Regions from separate parts of the Homo sapiens genome. Here region 1 is linked to region 2. The links are contacts of gene promoters, found by promoter capture Hi-C in blood cells and fetal thymus (Javierre and others, 2016). All regions are on one chromosome and are shown on one strand. The core of a region is centred on a gene start or on the middle of the fragment in contact, and the rest is flanking DNA. Distances in the headings are between cores, read along the strand shown.

What was found. Contacts are between HindIII fragments. The CHiCAGO score rates a contact against its expected background, and 5 or more counts as called.
Region 1: a contact is called between a fragment that was not itself captured here and the fragment with the promoter of ADAM32 in region 2, in 1 of 17 cell types (total B cells). The highest score is 5.2, in total B cells.

Annotation. Positions count from the first base shown.
Region 1 is chr8:38,833,775-38,841,157 of GRCh38, forward strand. It overlaps TACC1 (transforming acidic coiled-coil containing protein 1), which reads left to right. Exons shown (of 13, transcript NM_006283.3): 7 at 2,388-2,513; 8 at 4,696-4,772; 9 at 6,450-6,493. Among named protein-coding and RNA genes, the nearest start is that of TACC1, 50 kb to the left of the region's middle. RefSeq lists an enhancer at 1,108-1,891. The HindIII fragment of the contact is 2,426 bases long and covers 2,252-4,677 here.
Region 2 is chr8:39,105,448-39,112,257 of GRCh38, forward strand. It overlaps ADAM32 (ADAM metallopeptidase domain 32), which reads left to right and starts at 2,287. Exons shown (of 25, transcript NM_145004.7): 1 at 2,287-2,386. The coding sequence starts at 2,329. The HindIII fragment of the contact is 5,845 bases long and covers 1-5,020 here.

The DNA.
Region 1 (7,383 bases), core at 2,215-4,714, 270 kb before region 2:
ACTTGGTAGCCATGGAAAGCACTGAGAGTCTGTTTCCTAAAGTTGACTTAACCTGGGGACTCTGGCTTAAACTAAGAACTCAGAAGAGACTGACCCATGAAATGTTGTTAATTTAGAATCAGAAGTTTAACAGTGAGGTGAATCAAGTCTCAACTTGACCTCCTGTATTACCTCCCTTTAGGCAAGTAAAAGTTTCTTGATAAGAAACAAGGCACAGGAAGTTAGTGAGATGATTCAAATGTCCAGGGGTGTATCAGCTATCTGCTGCTGTGTAACACATTACTCCAACACTTAAAGCAAGTGTTTATTATCTCATTGTTTCTGTGCGTCAGGAATCTTGGGCAGCTTTGCTGGGTGCCTCTGACTCAGAATCTGTTACAGGCTGTGCAATCCAGGTGTTGATCAGGGCTGCAGTCATATCCAGGCTTGACTTGGGGAGGATCTGCTTCCAAGCTCACTCATGTGGTTGTTGGCAAGTCTCGGGTCCCCACTGGCTATTGGCAGAGACATCGGCTCCTTGCCACGTGGGCCTTTCCCTGTAGCTTCTCAAAACATGGAAGTCAGAGTTTGTTCAGAACCTAACCTCAGAAGTGACATCCATGACGTTTGCCATATTCTAATGAGTCACTAGGTCCAGCCTACACTCAAAGGGAAGAGATTACAGAGGGAGGGGATTAGTACTGGAGGTAGGGGTTACTGGGGGGCATTTTAGAGGCTGCCCACTGCAAGTGCCTTCTGGTTCTAGTGGTAGATTTTTCCCAAGAGAGAAAAGAGAGGTTTTGTGGGTACCTTGGACTTCTGTTGGCATGGTGGGCTGCCCTCCCCCAAATGCTGCTGGAACATGGGCACTGCCAGCTTGTGGCTTTTGTATTTTGCTTTTCTGTGGCCTGAGACAGGTTTCTATTTTGGGCCCATGGCTGAGGTCTGTGAAGCTGCATGCTAAAATTCTGTTTCTGAGCATTTTCTAGAGAGAGGGTAAAACTATAATGACTCTGAAAAATTTAAAAGCCACTCATCTACGTTCACCTTGGACTTTCTGTTTAGTGTTGATTCACACAAGATGTAACTGATTGATTATAATCAGTAACTAATTGATTAGTTATCCCACATTTAAGATTAAGATTATTCCAGGTCACTTTGGCATTTTGGATGTTCCCAAAGTATTAGATGACTCATTTATATAAAAAGTTTACTTCTGGCCAGGCGCGGTGGCTCACGCCTGTAATCCCAGCACTTTGGGAGGCCGAGGCAGGCAGATTGCAAGGTCAGGAGATTGAGACCATCCTGGCTAACACGGTGAAACCCCGTCTCTACTAAAAATACAGAAAAATTAGCCGGGCGTGGTGGCGGGCACCTGTAGTCCCAGCTACTCGGGAGGCTGAGGCAGGAGAATGGCGTGAACCCGGGAGGCGGAGCTTGCAGCGAGCCGAGATTGCGCCACTGCACTCTAGCCTGGGCCACAGAGTGAGACCCCGTCTCAAAAAAAAAAAAAAAAGTTTACTTCCGTAGGTAGGAGGAATAGCCAGCAAAAACGTCTTTTAGGAAGGAAAATAGTACAAAGTCCATGTTCTCATGAAAAGAAAAGTTTGCCAGTGTTTTGCTCTGGAACCTGAGCTTATGAAAGAAGCTCCTCAGAGCTTCTGAGCCAGCACCTCAGAGGGCGAAGTGCTGCCAGAAGGGAGTGGAAAACTTAGTAGCAAGGAAGAACCAACACACAGGCATGGTCCTTGACTTATGTATGGCCATTTTGCATATGGGCAACAATGGCACACACCCAGCAGGCTGGGTTACAGCAGGAGGTCGCTGCGGAGCAGCGGAAGTTCAGGATGATCCTGAATCATCCGGGTGAAAGGGTGGGGGTGAGAGTTCAGAGTTCAAATATATTTGCTATTTCTGCCTTCTTAGGCCTGAAAGTTAGTATTTTAGAAACATTTCCATCTGCAGTGGCTAAAGATACATACAAAGCATCAATATGTAACAGGAGCAGCTGTCACTTGTTTTTGTTTTTGCTTTTTTAAAAAAGAAATTCCCATTTACATGGAGCTTATCCCCAGAAACTTAATCATGGGTGTGTTTCTCTTTTATCCATGTGGTTCTTTGGTGACTGACCGCTATTATAAGTACACTTTCTCCCTTTTAGATCAGAATAAAATTCTCTAGGTTATCTGCTCAACAGAAGCTAAGACCACTCTGATAGTCATTATAACAGTTTTTCTTTAGTTACTTCCATAATTAGATTTGTTTTTTAAAAAGCTTCCCCCCGCTGACTTTTCTTTAAACATGGTTTTAAAGGATGTGATCAATTTAGTAATGAGGAAGTTGTTGAAGGATGTCTGGGGTTAAGAAGCTGAAAGCTGACAGATTCAGTGTAATCCCTTTCCCCACAGGGGCTGCTGGAGTCCTCTGCAGAGAAGGCCCCTGTGTCGGTGTCCTGTGGAGGTGAGAGCCCCCTGGATGGGATCTGCCTCAGCGAATCAGACAAGACAGCCGTGCTCACCTTAATAAGAGAAGAGGTAAAAGCTCTCCTGTTTAGTCTGCTTATCACTCCATTTCTTTGTAAGGCCCATGTACCAGCAGGTAGATTGCATCTCTGCTGGCTCAAGTTATCACAGGCTGGAAGTTCTTATTACCTGCAGCTTGTTTAGGTCGTAAAAGGGCCCCCTGTGGCAGTGGTGCTGGAGTCCTGACATTCTGGTCTCCAGGGTAAAATGTTGACAATCTGAAATATTCTTAAGAATTTTGTACCCTTCTTTATCTTTCAGCCCTGACATTTAAAATACCTAATTTTGCCAGCTTTGCTCCCATGTGTAACTAAATCAGTGCTTTTATTTTACAGAGGATATATGCTAATGCCTAAAAACATTTGTAATTTTTTTGCAGTAATACACAGTTGTTTCCTACTTTCATCCATTCTTTAAACCGTTCAACTCTCCGATTCCTGTATTGTGTTTCTTGAACAGCCTTTGTTCAAAATAGATCACTGCTAGGCCTTTCCTGGTTATCTGAAAAATACGAAAGACACTGTTGTGTACCATTAATAAGTTGCCCACCCTCTCCTGTCATATATCTATGCTGTATTTTGTGTGTTTGTTTTGTGTGTTTCTTGACAATTCCACCTGTTCTTAAAGGAAGGTGTGGCAATTTTATTTTTATAGTTTTTAGTTTTATAGTTTTTTTTAGTTTTAATTTTTATAGTATGCTGAAAGTGGTTAAGCACCTCAGCTGTAGGTCTTTTACAGCTTTCTAAAATAGCATCAAGTTGGTAATGAGGGATGTCAGCTAGTCCTGTTTTCAAAACTTGGGAGCAGTGGTAATAAGGCCCACCAAAATCTTTTTTTTTTTTTTTTTTTGAGATAAAATCTTGGCGCAGTAGCTCATGCCTGTAATCCCAGTGCTTTGGGAGGCCAAGGCGGGCGGATCACCTGAGTTCAGGAATTCGAGACCAGACTGACCAACGTGGAGAAACCCCATCTCTACTAAAAAAAAAAAAAATACAAAATTAGCTGGGCGTGGTGGTGCATGCCTGTAATCCCAGCTACTTGGGAGGCTGAGGTGGGAGAATCGCTTGAACCTGGGAGACGAAGGTTGTGGTGAGCCGAGATCGCACCATTGCACTCCAACCTGGGCAACAAGAGCGAAACTCCATCTCAGAAAAATAAAAATAAAATAAAAGACAAGATCTCACTCTGTCACCCAGGCTGAGTGCAGTGGCACAATTATAGCTCATTGCAGCCTCGAACTCCTAGGGTCAAGCGATCCTCTTGCCTCAGCTGCCTGAGTAGCTGGGACTGCAAGCACGCACCACTGTCCCTGGCCAAAATCTTGTAAATGAGAAAAATGACTTGATGTTTTTCCTGGGAGTTAAACTATGAGATCACCACCTAATGGATCAAAGTAAAGAGGTGCCTGATTACCTGAAGCACACAGGATACATCCTTCTATGTTCTTGAGATCCTAATAAATATAATGAAACTACCAATTAGGAAGAGAGCGGCACGGCCAGGGAAGTACAGTAAGAGGCTGCCCATGCAAGCCCAGCCCAGGGCAAATAGAGTTTGAGGCAATGAATTTAGAGTATTTCCTTCCAGTTAGCAAGAGCATCCCAAATATGAGCCTAGGTTCCAGGCTAACTAGCAAGACTCTACCCATAAGTGACGGATGCTATAGCTAGATGTAGCCAGCTCATCTGAGCCCCCTCCTTCTGACTCCATTTCTATGAAGCTGTCAGAAATCTCTATAGAAAGAGAATGTGTTGCTCATGCCAACTTCCAGTGGTCTGACTTTGTGGCAGTTTCACTCTGGTGGCCTGGCATCAGCCGTGATTACATGGCCTTAGTTAAGAGTGAATACCTGCCAATCAGATGGCTCTGTTCTTGGTGTCTGTCCCAGTCAGGGCCTGGCCCTGCAGAGCTGAGAGCTAGACCCTGGACCAAGGTAAAGTTCACAGAGGCTGTAAATACTACTTGGGATTTCTGAGAGATGTTCTACTCATCTTTATTCCCGTGTCTGCATCCCAGCATTCAGTGTGGCTTAGAATACACTTTTCCAAATGGTTACAAACATTTAATATTGAAGTTTATATTTCTAATATAGATTGAACATCTTGGGTTAGACCTGGTTGTGTGCTATTTCAGTTCCCAGTCTTAAATGCAAATTGTAATAGATTGGGTAAAACTAAGCTTTATTGTACTCTAGATAATTACTAAAGAGATTGAAGCAAATGAATGGAAGAAGAAATACGAAGAGACCCGGCAAGAAGTTTTGGAGATGAGGTTAGACTGGAGGTTTTGGGGAGGGGCTGGATACTTTTATGCACTGTTAGATTTGATACAGATGAAGTGATGACAGTGTTTGCTTGCCACAGAACCAAGTGTTGAGAGCTTGAGGGCTTTGCTGTTTGCACCTTGCTTTGTGATTGAGAATGTTATTTCAGGAGTTATTGCTAACCAGTTATTATATTCAAATACTGTAGTTTATCTTGGGTTGTTCAGAACATATAACATGTAAACAGAACCCACATAATTCTTATCTTCTTAGAACTGACAGAAATTTGTATCAAAATATCCATTTGGAATACAGAAAAATAAGATTTATCCAATGATAGAGACACTGAAATTCATAATACTACTTTTTTTTTTTTGAGGCAGGGTCTCACTCTGTCATCCAGGCTGGAGTGCAGTGGTGTGATCATGGCTCACTGCAGCCTCAACCTCCTGGGATCAACTGATCCTCTCCCCTCTGCCTCCCAAGTAGCTGGGACCACAGGCATGTGCCACCATGCCTGCATAATTTTTTTTAGAGATGAGGTCTCGCTCTGTTGCCCAGGCTGGTTTGTAACTCCTGAGCTCAAGCAATGCACCTGCCTCAGCCTCCCAAAGTGCTGGGATTGCAGGCATGAGCCACAGCGCCTGGTCCATAATACTTTTTAAAAATTAATTATGCATGAGAGTTTCAAATTACATAACCACCAAATAGATGATAGAAAGCTTGTTAACAAGAAACAAAATTGATTGACTTGAAATCGAAATCTTTTTATTTTTCCTCACTTTTAGAAAGGAGAGTTATGAGCCATGAAATGACTAAAGATGAAATCAAAGTAGAGAAGAAAAAAAGGCATAAATAATTCACACACAGTGTGGTCAACACTTGAATGATTAAAAAACATTTTAAGTATATCCCTCTAATTTGTTGCTCTTTTATTATTTGTCTTTTAAGCATTTCCTAGGTGTAAGGCCCTTTGCTGGGCTTGATGGAAAGGAAGGGACATTCCTGCTCTTAGAGAGCGGTAGCCATCCATAATAACCAACTTGGATATGACGTCAAAAGTGATGGGGGCACCACCATTGAGGGCAGGGGAGGACGTGATGCGACTCACAGAGCACCCAGCACCGGACTGGGTCAGAAGGACATTGTCATTCTTCACTAGAAGAAAGGTTAACCCAAGAGGTTGATCTTTAAAGTCTTTGAATAAGTGAAATACTTTTGGAATTAGGACACAAAATAAAACTTGTCACTGAATCAGAGGTAGAGTGTCTGAAAGGGTGGATTGACTCAGGAAAGTCTAAAGTCAGATCGCATCTGTTAGGAAGAGCCCAGAAGAATATCTTTAACTTAGTTTGTAAAAGATTGACTCATCTAAGCAGAATGAATCTATTTCCTTGCAGTATTCAAATAGGTGCAAAGAGAAAGGGAAGGCAGTTGGTTCTATAAGTAAAATATAAGTTTGACTAAAGATAAAATCTTAACAAAAACCTTTTTAGAACCTTAAGAAACCTTATATAATGTAAAAAAAAAAAAAAAAAAAAGATAACGAGAGCCCCAAAGCAGATAAATGGATTACATACATTGTCAGTGTATGTTAATGTGTTTAATTGTTTGGGACAGCATTTCTCCAACTTTCATTGTCTGAAAATCCTCCTCTGGTAATAAGTTCTTTTTTTCTCATTTAGGAAAATTGTAGCTGAATATGAAAAGACTATTGCTCAAATGATTGGTAAGGAGAACATTTTGTTTTTTGAGGGTATGAGCCATAGGATCTGTCTTAGTCTGTTCAGCCTGGTATAACAAAATATGTAAGCTAGGTAGCTTATAAACAACAAACATTTTTCATAGCTCTGGAGACAGGAGAGTTCAAGGTGCCCACAGATGAGATGTCTGGGGAGGGCCCATTCCTCATAGAAGGGGCTGGCTAGCTCTCTGGGGTCTCTTTTATAAGGACACTAATCCTGACATAATCACCTCCCAAATTCCCTTCCATGCCCACTTTCACCCTGAACATACTCACACACTGGGGATTAGGTTTCAATACACAAATTTGGGGTTGGGGGGTGGCATAAACTATAAGACCATAGCCGGATCCATTTATGATTTTCAGACCATGTCACAAACTTGTATTTGTCTGTCACTTAGATACAGTCGTCTCATTATTCGTGGGAGGTATGTTCTGTAAAGTTGCTGCAAACACTGAGTTAGTGAATACTAAACACTGCTCCTGGCCTGGCATGGTGTCTCACGCCTGTAATCCCAGCACTTTGGGAGGCTTGGGTAGGTGGATCACCTGAGGTTGAGAGTTCGAAAACAGCCTGACCAACATGGAGAAACCCCGTCTCTACTAATAATACAAAATTAGCTGGGCGTGGTGGTGCATGCCTGTAATCCCAGCTACTCGGGAGGCTGAGGCAGGAGAATCGCTTGAACCTGGGAGGCGGAAGTTATGGTGAGCCGAGATCGTGCCACTGCACTCCAGCCTGGGCAATGAGCAAAATTCCATCTCAAAAAATAAATAAGTAAATAAACACTGCTCCTAGGGAAAAGACAGAGTTAGAGTCTTGCATCTGGCCACAACATTTTCATTGATTGATCAGTATATAACCTTGTTTTACG
Region 2 (6,810 bases), core at 1,037-3,536:
GTTAAGTTTTTAAAAAGACTATTGGATCTGAACTTCTTTTATATATTTTTTAATATGCTTTATGTTTTTTACTTACTTGGTCATGGATGCCACTTCAAAATTTGAAAATATTAAAGGACATCCTTTCTTTCTTCAAAAAGAATAAATAAGGGTAAATTATATGCAAGTTTGACATCTCTGTTTGACTCTGTATGTCAAACTGACCTTGTTCAGAGTATTGCATTCTCGCTTTCTCCTGTGTCTGTAACCATAGAGTTAAGCACAATTTGGGTTTTCTAAACTCAAATCAGATTTTATTAAATTTCATAAATGTTTACTAAAACCTACCATTTTTCAGGCACTGTATTAGGTACTGTGATATCTAAGTTCTGGATAGGATATGTTTCCCGACTTTTAGAAGTGCATCCTCTGTTATGAAGAGAGGCATACACACAAGAATAATACAAAATCAACCCTATTAAAGATACAAACCAGAAAGGTTGAGGAGTAAGAAAGAACAAAATAATACAAGAGCCAGAAATTCATTCAGAATACTTACCACTAATTGATGAGTTGAAGCATTTACTGTAATTGCTCTTCTGTTTGTTACAAAGCAAGGTGAAACTAGCTGTGGCTCAGCAGCTGCCTAAAAGCAGTGTTAGCTTAGCATTGGCTGTTCCTATTGAGATACAAGCTCAGTGTATTTTTTTGTTGCCTTGTTCCCCACCCCACCCCTCCACCTGCCCCAGATGGAGTTTTGCTCGTCACCCAGGCTGGAGGGCAATGGCACAATCTCGGCTCACTGCAACCTCCACTTCCTGGGCTCAAGCGATTCTCCTTCCTCAGCCTCCCCAAGTGCTGGGATTACAGGCGCCCACAACCATGCCCGGCTAATTTTTGTATTTTTTAGTAGAAACGGGGTTTCACCATGTTGACCAGGCTGGTTTCAAACTCCTGACCTCTGGTGATCCAACCACCTCGGCCTCCCTAAGTGCTGGGATTACAGGCGTGAGCCACCTCACCTGGCCTGTTGCCTTGTTTTTGTTCATGCTATTAATTTCAGGTGTAGATTGCCCTGTTGAAATTGCGTGCATCCATAAAAATCACATCTTCACTTTAAATGTCTTAGTTCCCCAAGTGAGATTTTTCTCTGTTCCCATGAGGCCTTTTAGTTTATGTGTTGGCCTATTATGTAGTATGAGAAATTAATCCATTCTTTGGGATTTGAAAAGAATGAAAAGCTAATGCATACAGATGGAGACCAGGTGTGAGGCTGGGAAGGAGGAGGCATTGCAGTTCCAGGGAGTAAAGCAGTGTTTAGGAAAAACCCAAAGTCAGAGCTGCTAAAACACGGGATAGGAGAAATTAAGTGGCAGGTTCCGGTCTGAGTTCAGAAAAATTACTATGCTGAGGCTAGAATTTTCTACTGGAATGTAATTACTGTAATTGTGGGCAAGAATCTCTAAATCTTTCACTACATGAAATAAGTATTTATTGCACTGAGAAGTTTCTGAACAATAGAATGACATCACATGAGTTTTAGCCAATGGCCTGCGGAGAACCAGATTGGAGGAAAAAGCCTGGTTGTGAAGTCCATTTGGGCAGCGTCAGTGGGGAAAAAAATGCAGCTGGCGCTCTTCAAAAATATGAAGAGCTGGCATTTCATATTGAAAAGCGGCTCACTTTTCCCTTCTTTGGAATGTTCACACATCTGGCTAAATAGTTTTGAAAAAATATTAGAAACAGGTTTGGCAAATATGAATATATATTTAGGTGTGTATATAGATTTTAATTCAGAAAGTATTACACATTCGCTTTTGAAAGGACCTAGGAAGCCCCGAACGGTGGCAGATGCCTGTAATCCCAGCTACTCAGGAAGTTGAGGAGGGAGGATCACTTGAACCCAGGAGTTCGAGACCAGCCTGGGCAGAATAGTGAGCACCCCCGTCCCAAAAAGAAAAAAAAGCAACTGGGAAGTGTCTGGTGCAGGAGAGCACACGCTGACTGTGAATAAGTGTGTCAGTTCTTAAGGTCCAGCAACACAAAGCGAAAAGTTAGTGGAGGACTACGAGCGCGATCTCGACAGAGGGCGCTGGGTGGTCAGTGGCTCCAGCAACCACGCGGCTGGGGTGCGCCGGGAAGGGAGCTGGATGTTTTAGCCTCGGGGCGCACGCTGCGGGCCCTTCGTGTTCCGGACGCTAAACACCGAGAGCACCCCGTCTCCGGGGCCTCCGGAGAACGCTGTCCCATGAACGTGCGGGGAGCGGCCCCCGGCGTCCGCGCGTCCCCGCGTCCCTGGCAATTCCCGACTTCCCAACGGCTTCCCGCTGGCAGCCCCGAAGCCGCACCATGTTCCGCCTCTGGTTGCTGCTGGCCGGGCTCTGCGGCCTCCTGGCGTCAAGACCCGGTGAGCCAGCCCAGACCCTGACACTAGTCCGGGCGCTCGTCACACTGCGGCCCGACTCCCTGCAAAGCCCGGGGCCCTCCCTGTCTGGGTCCCTTTGGTCCTGTCACCCTGGCAACGGGGCCTTTTCCAGGGGATTAGGCGCCCCGTCCGGATGGAGAAGCGACTCAGGGCCCAGCACCAGGGCTCACGCCTGTAATCCCAGGGCTTTGAGAGACTGAGGCGAGCTGATTGTTTGACCTCGGAGTTGGAGACCAGCTTGGGCAACACAGCAAGACCCCATCTCTACAAAAAAATTTAAAAAAATGTTCCGAGGTGGTGGTGCGCACCTGTGATCCCAGCTACCCGGGAGGCTGAGGGAGGAGGACCACGTGAGTCCAGGAGGTGGAGGCTGCAGTGAGCCAAGATCGCCCCCACTGGACTCCAGCCTGGGCGACAGAGATCCTGTCTTTTTTATAAATTAAAAAAATTATTTTTGTGTGTGACCGAGTCCCTTCTGTCGCCCAGGCTGGAGTGCAGTGGGCAACAGTAGGCAACAGAGGGAGACTCCAGATCGTAGTTCTCCAGAACTATGAGGAAAATAAATTTCTGTTGTTTAAGCCATGCAGTCTACACTATTTTGTTATGGCAGTGGGAGCTGACTAATATAGTACTTAACAGCAAAATGATTGAAAAACTGTAAAAGTTCATTAGTAAGAGAACTGCTAAATAAACTGTGGTTATCTCCAAACAATGCAAATGGACCACTGTGGAGAGGGAGGAAGTAAGACATGCCATGTACTGACTCTGGCTGACAAGATTCAGAATAGTATGTAATAAGAGAAGGAAAAAAATACGGGCATATCCAAACATTTTACTTGCATGTAAGCCTCCCTGGTGATACTGTAAATTTTTGAGAACTCTTCCTACTCTTCTTCCTATCCTGCCATAATTACCTCTGCAGCATAGCAGAGGTGTGGTCAAGGCCAGGGTGTCAGCCTGGTTAGATTAGGGTGAGTGTTCTCTTCCTGGCTTGTAAACAGCTACCTTCTCCCTGCGTACTCACAGGACCTTTTCTTTGTGTACAGGGAAAGACAGGAGGAGGAAATTCTCTGATGTCTCATCTTATAAGGGCATGAATCTCATCATGAGGGTCCCACTCTATGCCTAAAACCCTGATTACCTCCCAAAGGCCATAACCAAATACTGTCACATTGGGGGTTAGGGATTCAACATAGAATTTTGTGGGATACATTCAGTTCATAACACATACAAAATTTTAATGCAGTGGTTGTCAAAGTTTTTGGGTTCAGAACTGCCTTATACATGAACAATTTTTGAGATTCTCAAAGAGCTTTTGTTTATGTGGATTTATATCGATGTTTAACATATTAGAAATTAAAATAGAAATGTAAGAATGTGTATTTCATTCATTAAAAATAAAAGTAACGGCCAGGCGTGGTGGCTCACGCCTGTAATCCCAGCACTTTGGGAGGCTGAGGCAGGTGGATCACCTGAGTGAGGTCAGGAGTTTGAAATCAGCCTGGCCAACATGGTGAAACCCCATTGCTACTAAAATACAAAAAAATTAGCTGGGCGTGGTGGTGCGTGCCTGTAATCCCAGCTACTCGGGAAGCTGAGGCAGGAGAATCGGTTGAACCCAGGAGGCAGGAGTTGCAGTGAGCTGAGATGGCACCATCGCACTCCAGCCTGGGTGACAAGAGCAAAACTCCATCTCAAAAAATAAAATAAAAAAAAAATATTAATGAACATTATTTTTTAGAGTACGTTTAGGTTCATAGCAAAATTGAGCTGAAAGAGTTCCCATATAGCCCCTGATCCCAAATATGAACAGCTTCTCCCACTATCAACATCTGGCACCATGGGATCCATTTGTTACAATTGAGCCTACACTGACACATTGTTATCATCCAAAGTCCACAGTTTGTTTGCATTAGGGTTCATTCTCCACATTGCCCATTCTATGGTTTTGACAAATGTACAATGACATGCATCCACCATTGTAGTATTATACAGAATAGTTTCACTGCCCTACAAATCCCATGTGTTCTGCTTATTTATCCCTCCCTCCCCACTGCCCCTGGCAACAACTCATCTCCTTAGTCTTCTTAGTTTTGCCTTTTCCAGAGTGTCATGTATTTGAAATCATATGTAGCCATTTTGGATGGACTTTTTTTTTACTTAATAATATGCATTTAAGGTTCTCCCATGCCTTTTCATGGCTTGATAGCTTATTTACTTACTTAATTGTTTTTTTGAGATGGTGTCTTACTCTGTCGCCCAGGCTGGAGTGCAGTGGCAGGATCTTGGCTCACTGCAAACTCCGCCTCCCGGTTCAAGCAATTTTCCTGCCTCAGCCTCCCAAATAGCTGGGATTACAGGTGCCTGCTACCATGCCCAGCTAATTTTTTTGTATTTTTAGTAGAGATGGGGTTTCACTGTGTTGACCAGGCTGGTTTCGAACTCCTGACTTCAAGTGATCCACCCACCTTGGCCTCCCAAAGTGCTAGGATTACAGGCATGAGCCGCTGCACCCGGCCGCTTTTTTATTTTTAGTGCTGAATAATATTCAATTGTCTGGATCTACCACAGTTTATTTATCCATTTACCTACCAAATGACATCTTGGTTGCTTCTAAGCTTTGGCAGTTATGAATAAAGCTGCTATAAACATCTATGTGCAGGTTTTTGTGTGGACATAAGTTTTCAACTCATTTGGGTAAATACCAAGAAATGCTATTGCTGAATCATATGATAAGAGTATATTTAGTTTTTAAAGAAACTGCCAAGCTGTCTTCCAAAGTGGCTGTACCATTTGCATTCACCCCAGCAATGAATGAGAACTTCTTTTATTAATGCTGTCATATTATAAATTATATGCATAACTACAAGTGCAAGAAATCCTGGCTGTCTTTTTTATTATAACTCAGAAGAGAGAATTTAAACTTTCAAATGAAAATGCCAGCTCCAAACTGCTGATGGTCCCATCAGCTGAGGGATCTTGCTCAGCAATTTGGGGATGGCATTTTCACATTAAGCAGTCACTCCTCATGTCCTCCTGCTTCCAGCCCCTGGCAGCCACTGATCTGCTTTGGATTTATCTGGCAGCCACTGTCCCTTTGGATTTATCTATTCTGGGTATTTCGTATAAATGGAATCATACAAAATATGACCTTTTTTGTCTGGCTTAATTCACTTGCATAATGTTTTCAAGGTTCGTCTCTGTTGTAGAATGCATTAGAACTTCATTCCTTTTTGTGACTGAATAATATTTCATTGTATATATTCACCCGTTTGTTTACTGATTCATCAGTTGATGGACATTTGATTGTTTCCAACTTTTGGCTGTTAGGAGTAATGCTGCTAGGAACCTTCATGTACCAGTTTTTGTGTGGACATATGTTTTCATTTCTCTTGGATATGTACTTACAAAGAAACTGTTAGGCTCAGTGGTATAGGTATGTCCATTTCCTCTTCTGGACTTTGTTATCCCCCAATAATGAGTTGGCTATTCTGGGTCTTTTACCTCCTCATGTAAACAGTAGAATATGTTGGTTGATATCCACAAAATAGCTTGCTTAGATTTTGATTAGGATAGTCTTGACATAGAACAAATTGGGAAGAGGCTGGGAATGGTGGCTTATGCTTGTAATCCCAGCACTTTGGGAGGCCAAGGTGGGTGGATCACTTGAGGCCAGGAGTTCAGGACCAGCCTGGCCATGGTGAAACCCCATCTCTACTAAAAAAAATACAAAAATTAGCTGATTGTGGTGGCACATGCCTGTAATCCCAGCTGAGGCAGAATTGCTTGAACCTGCGAGGTGGAGGTTGCAGTGAGCCAATATCGCACCTCTGCACTCCAGCCTGGGCAACAGAGCAAGACTCTTTCTCAAAAAAAAAAAAAAAAAAAAAAGGAAAAAAAAAAAGAACAAGTTGGGAAAAGCTGACATCCGATGGAGTGGCAGTGACTACCTACCATGTTTTGTTGAAAATGATTCTGAGGCTTTGCCTAAATTTGATGTAAAAGCTATGATACCTGCTAGATTTTTGAAGTGACATACGCATTTATGTATCAGTCTTTTCCTAAGGTGGGATAGTTGAGGCCAAATTTGGCTTTACATCAGAATAATCTCTGGATATTTATAAACATATATATTTCTGGATCAAAATCCTGGAACTTTAAAAATAATTATAAACTTGTTAATAATTTTTATTTAGTAATATGTGATTACATTCAAAATGAAGTAAAAGAGGCTACCCTATATGTTACCATCTTTCCTGATTGTCAATTTTACTATATTTTTAAAGAAAACGACTATGTTTAACAGTTTGATGGTACTCTTCTGGACTTTTCTCTAGACACTTAGATATAAATATGTGTAAATGTAGACATATACGGTCCTTTTGAAGTAAATTATAAATGACAAA